Regions from separate parts of the Homo sapiens genome. Here region 1 is linked to region 2. Evidence: promoter capture Hi-C in 16 types of primary human blood cells and fetal thymus (Javierre and others, 2016). All regions are on one chromosome and are shown on one strand. Each heading gives the region's core, a stretch centred on a gene start or on the middle of the fragment in contact. The rest is flanking DNA. Distances are from core to core; before and after follow the strand shown. Region 1 overlaps MCPH1 (microcephalin 1). Region 2 holds the start of DEFB1 (defensin beta 1).

Region 1 (6,759 bases), core at 4,059-6,558, 450 kb after region 2:
ACCTAGATAAAAACCTTCTGTCACTCCCATGTTTAGAGCATATTCTCACTCATCTGCTGTTTAAGTGTTTTTATAAGGCCTCTACTCACCTCTCCAACTATCCCTCACAGGCCTATCACCGTTCAACATCTAACACACGAACAGTTATTTGAAAAAATAAAGTACACTGCAATAAAAAACACATATCCATATTGATATAGAAATTTCTACAAAATATATTAGGAATAAAGGAAGTTTCAGAAATATGTGCCTCTGTACGGCACAGTATGGTCTATGCAATGTGGTAAGTGACACTAGGGTAGTGAATGTCATCCTGGCATCCCTGACCCCCTTCTGAGGGTGTGTAAAGTCAATACTATCTTTATAACAACACTAACGTGTGATTTTCCTTTCTCATCTCGCATTATCCCCTCAGTATACAATGCAGTGGAATTTTCCGAAGCAAAACGACATGTGCCACCCCAATACACTGAATGCAGAGGCAGATATGAGAAGGCAACTGTCTTCTATTAAGCCAGGCATCAGAGAAATCTGCAAAAATGTACAAATTTAAAAAAGAACACAGTGCAGTAATTGTAACAAGAGAAGTACAACCAGGCAGAAAAGCAGCAACAGGTTGCATAACGAGTATGGTTCAGAGAAAGCTTCAGGTCAGAGATGATCACCAGACTCAACTCTGACAAGGAGGCAGATGTGGGAGGACACAGATCTTCCATCTGGAAGCAGAGCATAGACTCAAGCACAGTGCAGCAAACAGGGTGACATTGTGGGGAAAACATACACCATTTGTATGACTGAGTGAATGAATGCAACTTAGGAGACTAGCAACAAAAAAAGAATTCATGTGATTCCAAGGGTTGTACTTTCTAAGCTAATGAGCTTGGACCCTGTCCTGTGGGTCTGGGGCATGGGGACAGGTGTGAGGGAGGGGTCGTGGGCAGATCACTGGTCCAGGAGGAGGAGGCCAGTCAGGGAATACTGCAATAACTGTGGCAGGAGACGCTAAAGATTCAGCAAAGGCAGTTGGGGACTAAGATGGGGAGGGGGAATCCTTAACTGAATAATATTTAGACAATAAAAATGGAAGGTTTTTGACCTCTGGTTAAATCTGGTGGACTTAGCACATGCTTTTCTCTTGACCCCCAAAACCCCAATAAAATGATAGTAAAGGAAAACAAAAAGACATAAACCAACAAAAATAAAGAGTAGATAAGAGCTGTCTGGGGAAATGAAATCAAACAAATAAAAAAAAAAAGGGAAACCCAAGCCTGGCAGCTGGGGCGGGGGAGGAGTCCATCTGGAGCTCAGAACCTGGAGCTCAGAACCCCTCAAGGGCAGGAGGCGCAGGTGAAGCCACAGCAGTCTGGGGTGGGGCAGGGGGCAAAGTGCAGAGGGCAGAGGGTGGAAGGCTGAAAAGAGGGAGCGACTCTCCTTCTCTCCTTGCCTGTGCCCACTCACTGCCACCCTGTGTCCAATGGGGGCACTGGGTCCATGTTCACATAAGTGGAGCCTGAGAAGCTCTGGACTCAAAGGACACCAGGCCAAGCTCAGGGAAAACAAAAAGTTTTCCATGAAAGGAAATATATTCATGGTTCACTCTGAGATTCAGCCTAACACACAACTTCCACATTCATAATGATGTAAACATAAACTACCGATTTAACCAAAATGTATCATGTACACTGCAATCAAGAGTGGAAAGAGCCTGCACATGAATGTGTCCATGCAAACAGCAGATGAGTGTATGTGGGAGTGAGGTGCACTCAGAGGGGCGGATTAAAAACGAAATTCTCACTTCCCTATCAGAAAGTCACTAGATAATACCTGAAACTGAAAAACCGAAACAGCAATACGGCCACAGTATTTAGAAATATGGAGGTCACCGAACAGCTTATCTGCAGAAGCAGCCACAAGTGTGAAAGGAGCTGCCTCTGGGGAACAGGAATTGAGGGTGAAAAGGGTCAAGAAAGAGACCATTGTTTTTCATGATAAGCCTTGTAATATTTAGTTCTTCTGTGTGTGTGTGTGTGTGTGTGTGCGTGCGCACGTGTCCATACAATGGAACATGATTCCACCATAAAAAGAAATGAAATTCTAATACAGATGACAACATACTGAACCTTGAAAACATTATGCTAAGAGAAAGAAGCCAGACATGAAGGCCGTATATCATATGATTCCGCTTATTGGAAATGTCCAGAAAAGGAAAATCCACAGAGAAAGAAAGTAGACTACTAGAGGCTGCCTTGGCTGGCGGGAGAATAGGGGATAGGGCTAAGGGGTGCAAGTTTCATTTTGAGGTGACGAAAATGTTTTTAAATTGTGGTGACGGTTGCACAACTCTGTGAATCCAGTTATATGCCGCATAACAACCTTTTGGTCAATGACAGACCACATACACAACAGTGATCACATAAGATTATAATGGAGCTGAAAAATTCCTATCGCCTAGCGACATACTGATGTTCCTAACCCTGTGTAGGCCCAGGCTAATGTGTGTCTTTGTGTCCTAGTTTTTTTTAAGTTTAAAAGTAAAAATTAAAATTAAAACATAGAAAAAGCTGATAAAGATATAAGGTATTTTTATACTGTTGTACAATGTATTTTAAGGCATTACAAAAGAGTAAAAAAATTTAAAAAATTACAAAGTTTATCATGTAAAAAAGCTATAGTAAGGCCAAATAAAAAAAAAATACAGTATAGGCGAGGCGTGGTGGCTCACACCTGTAATCTCAGCACTTTGGGAGGTTGAGGCGGGAGGTCAGTGGTTCAAGGCCATCCAGGCTAACATGGGGAAACCCCGTCTCTACTAAAAATGCAAAAATTAGCCGGGCGTGGTGGTGCGTGCCTGTAATTCCAGCTACTCAGGAGGCTGAGTCAGGAGAATCGCTTGAACCTGGGAGGCAGAGGTTGCAGTGAGCCGAGATCACGCCACTGCACTCCAGTCTGGGCGACAGAGCGACACTCCGTTTCAAAAAAAAAAAAAAACAGTATAATAACTACTTACGAAGTACTCGTATTAGGTATTATACATAACCTAGGTGTTTTTTTTCTTTTCCTCCCACCACAAGTAACAGAGAGATAGATTATTTACTTATGGGAGGAGCCGGGTGCAATAACTCCCATGTGTAATCCCAACATTTTGGGAGGCGGAGGTAGGAGGACTGTTTGAGGTCAGGAGTTGGAGACTAGTGGGGGCAACGTAGCAAGAATGCCGTCTCTACAAAAATAAAAATAAAAATAAATTACCCAGGCATAGTGGCACACGCCTGTAGTCCCAGCTCCTCAGGAAGCTGAGGCAGGAGGATTGCTTGAGCCTAGGAGGTTGAGGCTACAGTGAGCCATAAATGTGCCACTTCACTCCAGCCTGGGAGACAAAGCAAGACCTTGTCTTTAAAAAAACGTTATAGTATCAGTTAATACAGTTGCTCCAAAAAATATACATCCAGTGTAACCTAACTGTATGACGTGTATAAAGTCCATAGTACTGTATAGTAGTAATGTCCTAGGCCTTCACATTCGCTCACCACTCACTCAACGACTCAACCACAGCAACTTCCAGTCTAGCGAGCTCAATTCATAGTAAACGCCCTATGTAGGTGTACCATATTTTATCTTTTATACCATATTTTTACTCTACCTTTTCTATGTTTAAGTATTTCAGAGACACAAATACTTACCACTGTTTCACAACTGCACATGCTGTAGAGGTTTATGCCTAGGAGCAACAGGTTGTGCCACAGAGCCTAGGTGTGCAGTAGCTATGTCATGCAGGTGTGTGTTAATACACACTGTGATGTCTCCACAACAACAAAATCACCTATTCGTTTCTCAGAAGGCATCCCTGTCGTCAAGCAATACCTGACTGTATATTTAAAACCACTGAATTGTATACTTTAATTGGACAAATTGTGTAGCATATGAATTAGATCTTAAAACAATGTTGGGAAAAAAAAAACCATGAAATACCACTACACATCTGCTTGAATGGCTAAAATTCAAAAGATGGATAAATTTCAACTATTGGTGAAGACGTGGAGTGAAAGGAACACTGCTGGTGGGAATATACAGTGCCATAACCACCTTGGAAAAGTTTGGGTAATGACCCAAGAGAAATGAAAGCATACAAAGACACAAATGTAAATGTCCATTGTAACTTTATTCATAATAACCTAAAATGGCAAACTAGCCCAATCTCCATCAACTGGTGGCACCAAGCTACATGCCTACAATAGAATACTACTCAGCTATAAAAGGAAGTGAAACCACTGCTACAAACAACACGGACAGATCGCAAAAACATCACCTTCAGTGATGTCAGGCACAAAATAGTACACGCTGGATGATTCCACTGATCTGAAGCCCCAGAATTGGTGACACTAATCTTTAATGACAGAAACCAGATCTGTGGCTGCCCTGGGGTGGGAGGAGGGGGCAGGGAGGCCGACAGCAAATGGACACGAAGGAGATTTTGGGGTGATGAAAATGCTCTGTATTTTGGTTGTGGTGGTGACACAGGTATACACAAAAAACCCGTGAATGTACACTTAAAATGGGTCCATTTTATTTTATGTAAATGTTTTTATAAAGCTGATTTTAAAAAAACAAACCAACTATCTGAGCCTGCAATAATGGGGTGAGCAGAATGCTGTATCTAATAAAAGTGATGGGAAAGGGAGGCGGGTGGAAGAGAACGAGGAAGGAAATGTTTTTTAACTGTGCTTCTTTTTAAAAAGTCCCCTTAATTACCAATTTTAAGCATGAGAAGTTTTTAGCAGCTTCTTCTTACTCAAGCAAAATGTCACCGATTTACCACTATTATGCCTAAGGGAACAGCAAAAGGGGGGTGGCTGAGATGCATCTGGACGAAAGACGTAGAGGAGACCCTAGATAATCGTGTTATCAAATACACAGTATTAAAATCACCACCATCATCAGGACAAAGGTCACCCAGCTCATGAGAAGCCTCACACCAACCGTGCTGGAAAAGCCACTACCATTGCCTCCTATTGCACAACACAGAAAACCGAGGAGCAGAGAAGATCATTTGCCAAACTTTACAAAACCAGTAAGTATTCTTTAAGTTAGCAGTTTAAGGAAGGGCTTGATTCAACCCAGGAAAACGTGTGCCTGACATAGGTTATACAGTTGTGGAAGATGTGTTCTGTTCCTTTGGGAGAAGCTTCCCAACCACATATCCTTCAGAGTGATAAGATGTAAGGTGCACAGAGATGCTCTCCCTGAATTTCATCTACCTGGGTGTAACTATCATCACTCACTATGAAGAAGTAAGTGGCACTTACTGCTGGTAATGCCGTTCTGCATGCCAACAGCTATGCTTTAGCACACGTGGTAACACATTAAAGCTGCTACACTGAAACCCATGTTTACCAGGGGTCCAACCAAAATCTACTGAACAGACAAAAAAGCTTCCAGTTAGATTTCTATTTTTCTTCAGAAATGTAAAATGATAACATTATCCCACCATCTAGTGGTCAAAACGAAAAGTGTTTCAAGAGATGTCTCTAAACAGAGAACCAACTATTTGACCTGCTGCTGCCTCAGAGCCAACAGAAATCAAAGCAGCAACGTTCTCCTCGGGAAGCCGTGCTGTGATGAGCTTATTCTCCCCAGAGAGCCGATTCACTCCAGCACTTCCCACAGTACACCTGCTAGGTCGGCCAGGAACCACCGACTCTCATTCTACCCTTAGGACGATGCCTTCACCTGGGCCAATCCTGCATTCTTTATGCTACTCTTGTGCCAAACTGCCCAGCACCAGTATCTTATTCTCTAGGCCCAGTCAGTAAGTCAATTCAGGAAAAGTACATTAATCTTTTTTGTAAACGGCACTGTGTTAGTGAGGTAAAAAAGTGAATGGCATCTCCTTGAAGATTCCAGCCGCGAAGCACGCTATCCTTCACGTGTGTCCCTGACACACAAGGAAGAACACAGGAGACTCAGAGAAGTCTGCACAACAGTGCTCTGCCAGCAGAGAGCGAACTTCTGTGGTCTAGCACTAAATAACCGTAGGAAGTTAACTCAGGAGCTACTGGAGGAACCTAGAGCCCAGCAGTTGAGTAATTTGCCCAGTCCTAAATGGCTACACATCCACTGTTACACATTGATGTGATATTAGGAGGACACATCAGACCGTTCCAAACTGAGGGACGTTCCTATCACTGGTCAGTGACCTTAAACAGTGTCAAAGTCACAAAAGCCAGTGAAAGACTAAGGAATGGCTGCAGGGTGAGAAGGCTGAGGAGGCGGGAAGTGGAGCTGGCTGCTGGTAGGATAGGAATGGAGTCTGAGGATTCCGGGAGGAAAGGAGCCGTGGTAAGCCCCTAATGTCGGCCTGTGTTGTGGTTATGCAGGAATATGTCCCTGTTTCCAGCAAACACTAAATGCAGGGGGTGATGGCCTTCGGTCAGCAACCAACTCTCAGCCTAGCAAGGACAAAGCCTGTGAACCGTATTCCCCACCTAGCTGTTAGTTTGCAGTTGTTTAAAAATGATAAATTGTCTTCAACAGAACTTAGAGTGGGGGCCAAGCTGACCTTTATTTCAACTTTATGTATTCTTTCTTCAAGGTAAAAATTTCTACATCCAAAGGAAATGTCAGAATTTTATCAATTGCCATCTGATCTTAAAATGAACACTCCCAGAAGGAACCCAACAGAATGGGATTCTAGTGACACCTAGTGACCTTATGAAGTTAATGTTCACATTTTCAGTGGAAACCATGAGCTACTGCATTGGA
Region 2 (6,616 bases), core at 1,996-4,495:
TTCCTCAGGGATCTAGAACTAGAAATGCCATTTGACCCAGCCATCCCATTACTGGGTATATACCCAAAGGACTATAAATCATGCTGCTATAAAGACACATGCACACGTATGTTACTGCAGCACTTTCACAATTGCAAAGACTTGGAACCAACCCAAATGTCCATCAATGATAGACTGGATTAAGAAAAATGTGACACATATACACCATGGACTACTATGCAGCCATGAAAAAGGATGAGCTCATGTCCTTTGCAGCAACATGGATGAAGCTGGAAACCACCATTCTGAGCAAACTATCACAAGGACAAAAAACCAAACACCGCATGTTCTCACTCATAGGTGTGAATTGAACAATGAGAACACATGGACATAGGGTGGGTAACATCACACACCGGGGCCTGTTGTGGGGTAGGGGGAGGGGAGACAGATAGCATTAGGAGAAATACCTAATGTAAATGATGAGCTAATGGGTGCAGCAAACCAACACAGCACATGTATAAATATGTAACAAACCTGTACGTTGTGCACATGTACCCTAGAACTTCAAGTATAATAAAAAAATAAATAAAATAAATAAAAAATAAAAATAAAATTTAGAAAAAAAGTTTTCCAGGTTCAGAGCAGAAAACATCAGTCCTGAAAATCAGGATTCCAGGGTTTAGATTCCTTTCACTCCCAGGATCTACAGACACCATCGGACCTCACATGGTGCCCGGCAGCATTCTGAGATTTTTTACTTTATTATCTTGTAAACCCCCAAAATTTGAGACAGGTCTCATTTAATTTAAAAAGTTTATTTTGCCAAGGTTGAGGATGTACCTCTGACATAGCCTCAGGAAATCCTAACAACATGTGCTCCAGGTGGTCAAGGCACAGCTTGCTTTTATACATTTTAGGGAGACATGAGACATCAATCAATGTATAAGAAGTACAATAGTTCTGTCCAGAAAGGCAGAGACAGCTCAAAGCAAGGCCCCCACCACTGGGGGCTTCCAGGTCACAGGTATGTGAGAGACAGACAGTTGCATTCTTTTTATTGTATTTTTGAGACGGAGTGCGGTTTTGTCACCCAGGTTGAAGTGCAGTGGTGCGATCTCGGCTCACTACAACCAATGTGTCCTGGTTTCAAGCAATTCTCCGGCCTCCGCCTTTTGAGTAGGTGGGATTACAGGTGTGTGCCACCACACCCAGCTAATTTTTGTATTTTTAGTAAGGACGGGGCTTCACCATGTTGGCCAGGCTGGTCTCGAACTCCTAACCTCAGGCGATCTGCCCGCCTCGGCCTCCCAGAGTGTTAGGATTACAGACGTGAGCCACTGCGCCCTGACCGGTTGCATTCTTTTGAATTTATTATAAGTCTTTCCAAAAAAGTTAATCGAAATACGCATGTATCTCTGGGAGCAAAAAGATGACTTGAATAGAAAAAGAGGCAGATTCGCAATAAGCAGTTCCCAGCTTGAAGGTGCCTGAGATATTTTTCTTTCACAATCTTATTGAACCCACACCTGGTGTAATAACCTGGAAGCCTCCCCAGGAGGCGGTCAGCACAGAGGCTAGGGAATGAGGCTTTCCAGGCCATTACACCAGTTTTCCATTTACCAGCAGGGTGACCTTGGGCAATTTGTTTCAATTCTCTGAACCCCAGTGTTTTTCTTCTCTAACATGAGGATTATATTGCCTGGTCAAAGAATCATAGTGTGGCTTCAATAAGACAGAAGGAAAGGGACAGAAACAGATCCGATAGAATACTGTAGCTAGCTCATTGAGGCAGTTCACAGACGGTGTTTGGGAGGAACTTGGAAGAGGCTGAGCCATGTCTTACCCAGCACCAGCAAGGAAAGCTGTGTTTCGGTTCTTTCTTTTCTCTTTCCACAATCTCACTGCTCCTAGGTCAGGCATGGCTCAGCCTCTTCCAAGTTTTCTCCCAAACACCCTTTGTGAACTGCCTCAATGAGCTAGCTACAGGATCCCACTGCATCTTTCTGTCTCCTTCTTTCTGTCTCTCTGAATCTATTTCTCTCTATCTCTCTCTCTCTCTCTATTTCCATCTCTCTCTGTCTGTTTCTATCTCTCTGTTTCTCTGTGTCTCTCTACTGTCTCTCTGCATGTCTCTGTCTCTTCCTCTGTCTCTGTTTTTGTTTGTCCATCTTTCTGGATCTCTCTCTGTCTTTCTCTGGCAGGGTTGAAGTGGGAGTATACGGCAGGTTCATGTTTGGGTGCAGAATGGCATTCTGCCAGCGGTAGAGTGGCTGAGGGTCACTCCACTCTGGGTGTCTCATGCCATGTGGCTGCAGTATGGGGTTCTCATTGGACCACCGTGACAGTGTAGGGTGGATGTCATTCCTGGAAACTGAGCCTCAAGCTGGGTTCTCCAGCAATGCCACCACCCCCCACCAACCCTGATATCCTCCGAATAAACTCTTCCCTTCCTTGGTCAGCGAGAGCCAGCGTCTGCTGCTTGCAAATAAGCCACTGAGACATCAGGAAAGCTGCTCACAGAATTACAATGAAAATCAGTAATAAATAAAATGTTTCTTAAATCTTTAGAATCAAGGAAAACCTGAGGGATACTTGGAGAGTCGCTAACAGCACCCCAATCTGGCAGTTGTAGCTCTGCAGGGTGGGCCCAGGCTGGCCCAGACCCTCACCCTCCAAGGGCCACACTGGGGGCTCACTTTCTGAGGAGTGCCCTTTGGAAACGTCCCAGGAACACGTCTAGTGGGAAAAGAGAAAAGTTGGTCCATCGAGGAGAGTGTTCTGCATAAGGGGAGAGATGAGAAGGTAGCCTTGGCCAGAGGAAGAAACTTCATTACAACCAGCTCTCCTTCTGCAAGGGAAGAGGGTGAAGTTTGAGTTTGTCTTGCAGGAAGACAATCAAACTAAAGAGGCCAACACCAGCTTAGAGCCGAGCGGCCCCCTGCTCAGAGCTTCCCTGTGGCTCTCCTCCATGTGATCCAGAAGGAGGGACTCCAGTGTGAACTGCCTGTTCCAGAAACCCCATCAGAACTGCCTAACCTAGAAAACCAAACAGGAGGAGCTGGCACCAGGGCTCCAGGCTGAAAGCTAAATCCAGCGGCAGCCAGATGGAGACAATGTGCCATGTGACTGCTGACTGCTCAGGGCAAATGACACCAGGGGTTAGCGATTAGAAGTTCACCCTTGACTGTGGCACCTCCCTTCAGTTCCGTCGACGAGGTTGTGCAATCCACCAGTCTTATAAATACAGTGACGCTCCAGCCTCTGGAAGCCTCTGTCAGCTCAGCCTCCAAAGGAGCCAGCGTCTCCCCAGTTCCTGAAATCCTGGGTGTTGCCTGCCAGTCGCCATGAGAACTTCCTACCTTCTGCTGTTTACTCTCTGCTTACTTTTGTCTGAGATGGCCTCAGGTAAGCTCTGGTACCTGCAAGAGTTTCCCATCCCCAGGGCTGGGGACAATGGGGCTGATGTGAGTCTCGGATGGCTGCCTCCGTGTCCCAAGGGACGAGGAACAAGCAGCAGGAAAGCATCCCGTGGTTGAGTGGCCTGCAGTTGGCAGAAGGCAGCAGGCAAGCCCTGCCAAGCCTTCAGGGTCTGTGAGCCGCCAAGGAGTGAGCCTGGCAGGGTCATGGCGCTTGTCACAGGCAGCTGCCTGCATCCTTGTCCTGGACATGTAGACAGTATCCTATGTGGATGAGATTGCTGCTTCCCCTGCAAGACGACTCCTCACACTGAGAGGCCAGCTTCCTATGCAGAGAGAGGGGCCGGCCCCATCCTCAGCCCACGTCACTGGGTGCAGCCTCCTGGGGTGCCCTGGTACAGGTGAGGTGCTGCCGCCCCACCCATCAGGCCAGCTCAGCCGGTGCCTTGGACTCACCTCCTGTGCAGGCAGGCGGTCCTCTCCCTCTCCTGAGAAATGCATCCACATTCTCCAGGTTAGCAGTCTCCCCAGTCAATAGGAGGGGGCTTCCTGTGAGCCAGGTGTATGTCAGCTTCTCTGGGCCAAAGCAGCCATGACCCTGACATGATGGTGGGACGTGCAGGAGGAATCGGGAACATGTTTTATCCCAGCCCTATCCTTGTTCACACGAGTCACATGGTGCTAAGCCTTGGTTTATTCATCTGCAGAATGAGGGGCTGGGAAGGATGATCCTGAAAGCAAGCACTCCAGTTCAGAAAGTCTCTGTAAGATCCTATTGTAAGTTTCTCTAGGCCATCACTGTATCCAGCAGATAGGCTTAATTTATTCCAATTATGCCTCAGTTTTTCCATCTGAAAGCTGAGTACAAAAGCATTCTAAATGCAGAACTTTTCATGCTGCCAGTTGCTACAATGGATTTTGTTTTTTTGTTTTTTTTTTTGGTTTTTGGTTTTTGGTTTTTGTTTTTGCTTTGCTTTTTTTTTGAGACAGGGTCTCACTCTGTCACCCAGGCTAAAGTGCAGTGGTGTGATCTCGCCTCACTGCAGCCTCTGCCTCCTGAGCTCAGGCCATCCTCCCACCTCAGCCTCCCAAGAAACTGTGACTACAGGCATGCACCACCACACCTGGCTAATTTTTTTATTTTTATTTTTTCGTAGAGATAAGGTCTTACTGTGTTGACCAGGCTGGTCTCAAACTCCTGGGCACAAGCAACCCTCCTAGTTCAGACTCCCAAAGTTCTGGGATTATAGGCATGAGCCACTCCACTCAGCCTACCGTGTTTTTTTGTTTTGTTTTGTTTTGTTTTTTTGAGATGGAGTCTTGCTCTGTCACCCAGGCTGGAGTGCAATGGCACAATCTCAGCTCACTGCAACCTCCACCTCCTGGGTTCAAGCAATTCTCCTGCCTCAGCCTCCTGAGTTAGCTGGGATTACAGGTGCATGCCACCAAGCCTGGCTAATTTTTGTATTTTTTAGTACAGACGGGGTTTCACCATGCTGGTCATGCTGGTCTTTAACTCCTGACCTCATGGTCCGCCTGCCTCCGCCTCCCAAAGTGCTGGGATTACAGCCATGAGCCACCACGCCCAGCCCATGTTTTTTTAAAGGAATAGAAAATATTACTTCATGCCATGTAGTAAAAGTAGATGCTATTTAATTACACCCATATTTCAGTTTGGGGTGTGTGCATATGTTTTTACTGAGTAGCAGTGAGAAATTTCTTTCTGATGGTGGTTCAGTCCAAACTCAAAAGGGTTTGAAAGGCACTTTGTTAACATAAAGAATTTTTGTTTTCAGTCTATTATATCTAAATTGAATTATGAGAAGCTATTCTCGAGCCTTCCCAGTCACAACTCCCTCCTACCCCCAAGAATAATCACTCACTTGACTTTTATGGTGGTAACTTTTCATATTCTTTACACTTTTGCCACACTAATTAATATTCAGGTTGAATAGTACAGCTTGGTTTGTGCACACATTTCTATTGGCCAGTAGGTGCCCTTATGCCTCTATTTCTACATGCTGAAAAGTTGCATCACCGGATCATAGGCTATGCATATATTCAATTGTATTGGACAATGCCAAACTGTTTTCCAAGATTATTTACACCAACTTGCACTCCCACAAGCAGTGAATAAGAGTTCCTCTTGCTCTGTATCCTTGCCAACATTTGATAACATCAATTATTTTTAAATTTTAACCACCTGGTGAGTGTAGCAATAGCTCACTGGAGTTTTAATCTGCATTTCCCTGATAAATAATAAGTTGGGCCCTTTTATACATAGTTACAGGCAACTGGGTTATTTTTTGTAAAATACCTGTTTGTCTTTTGTCCATGTTTTCTTTTGGATTATCTGTCTTTTCTTATTGGTTTGTAGTTCTTTATGTATTTTCTATGCAAGCCTTTTGTCAATTATATACATCACAAATATCTTCTCTTGCTTTGTGTTTTGATTTTTCACTCTCTTAATGGAAACTTTCCTAGAAAAGAGGCTTTTATCATGATTTCAATGTAGTCGAATGTGTCATGTCTTTTTCCGTAAGGTTACTGCACTTTCTATCTTGTTTAAGAAGACTTTCTTTACATCAAAGACATGAAGATAGTCCCCAATATTGTCTTCTAAAAGCTTATCCTTTTTCTTTTTACATTTAGACTTACAATCCATCTGGCAATGGGGTGTGTGTGTGTGTGTGTGTGTGTGTGTGTGTGTGTGTGTGTGTGGCTTCGGTATGAAGTAACGGTCAAGTTACTTTTTTTCCCCAATATGAATATCTGATTGTCCAGAACCAACTTTTTTTTTTTTTGAGACTGAGTCTCGCTCTGTCACCCAGGCTGTAGTGCAGTGGCACAATCTTGGCTAACCGCAACCCCTCCCTCCCAGGTTCAAGGGATTCTCCTGCCTCAGCCTCCCGAGTGGCTGGGATTACAGGCGCCTGTCACCACACCTGGCTAATTTTTGTATTTTTAGTAGAGAGCAGGTTTCACCATGTTGGCCAGGCTGGTCTCAAATACCTGACCTCAAGTTATCTGCCTGCCTCTGCCTCACAAAGTGCTGGGATTACAGCCATGAGCCACCATGCCCAGCCCAGAACCAACTGTTGATAAGACTATTTTTCCCCACTGTTCTGCTGAGCCACTACTATTCTACATCAATTCTCCATGTATGCATGAGCCTCTTTCTACACTCTATCTTATTCCATTTGGACATTTTTCTGTCCTTG

What was found. Contacts are between HindIII fragments. The CHiCAGO score rates a contact against its expected background, and 5 or more counts as called.
Region 1: a contact is called between a fragment that was not itself captured here and the fragment with the promoter of DEFB1 in region 2, in 1 of 17 cell types (monocytes). The highest score is 6.9, in monocytes.

Annotation. Positions count from the first base shown.
Region 1 is chr8:6,424,025-6,430,783 of GRCh38, reverse strand. The region is part of intron 3 of MCPH1 (microcephalin 1); the gene reads right to left. Among named protein-coding and RNA genes, the nearest start is that of MCPH1, 21 kb to the right of the region's middle. RefSeq lists a silencer at 1,842-2,136 and an enhancer at 2,116-2,225. The HindIII fragment of the contact is 247 bases long and covers 5,185-5,431 here.
Region 2 is chr8:6,874,565-6,881,180 of GRCh38, reverse strand. It overlaps DEFB1 (defensin beta 1), which reads left to right and starts at 3,245. Exons shown (of 2, transcript NM_005218.4): 1 at 3,245-3,384. The coding sequence starts at 3,324. The HindIII fragment of the contact is 13,732 bases long and covers 1-6,023 here.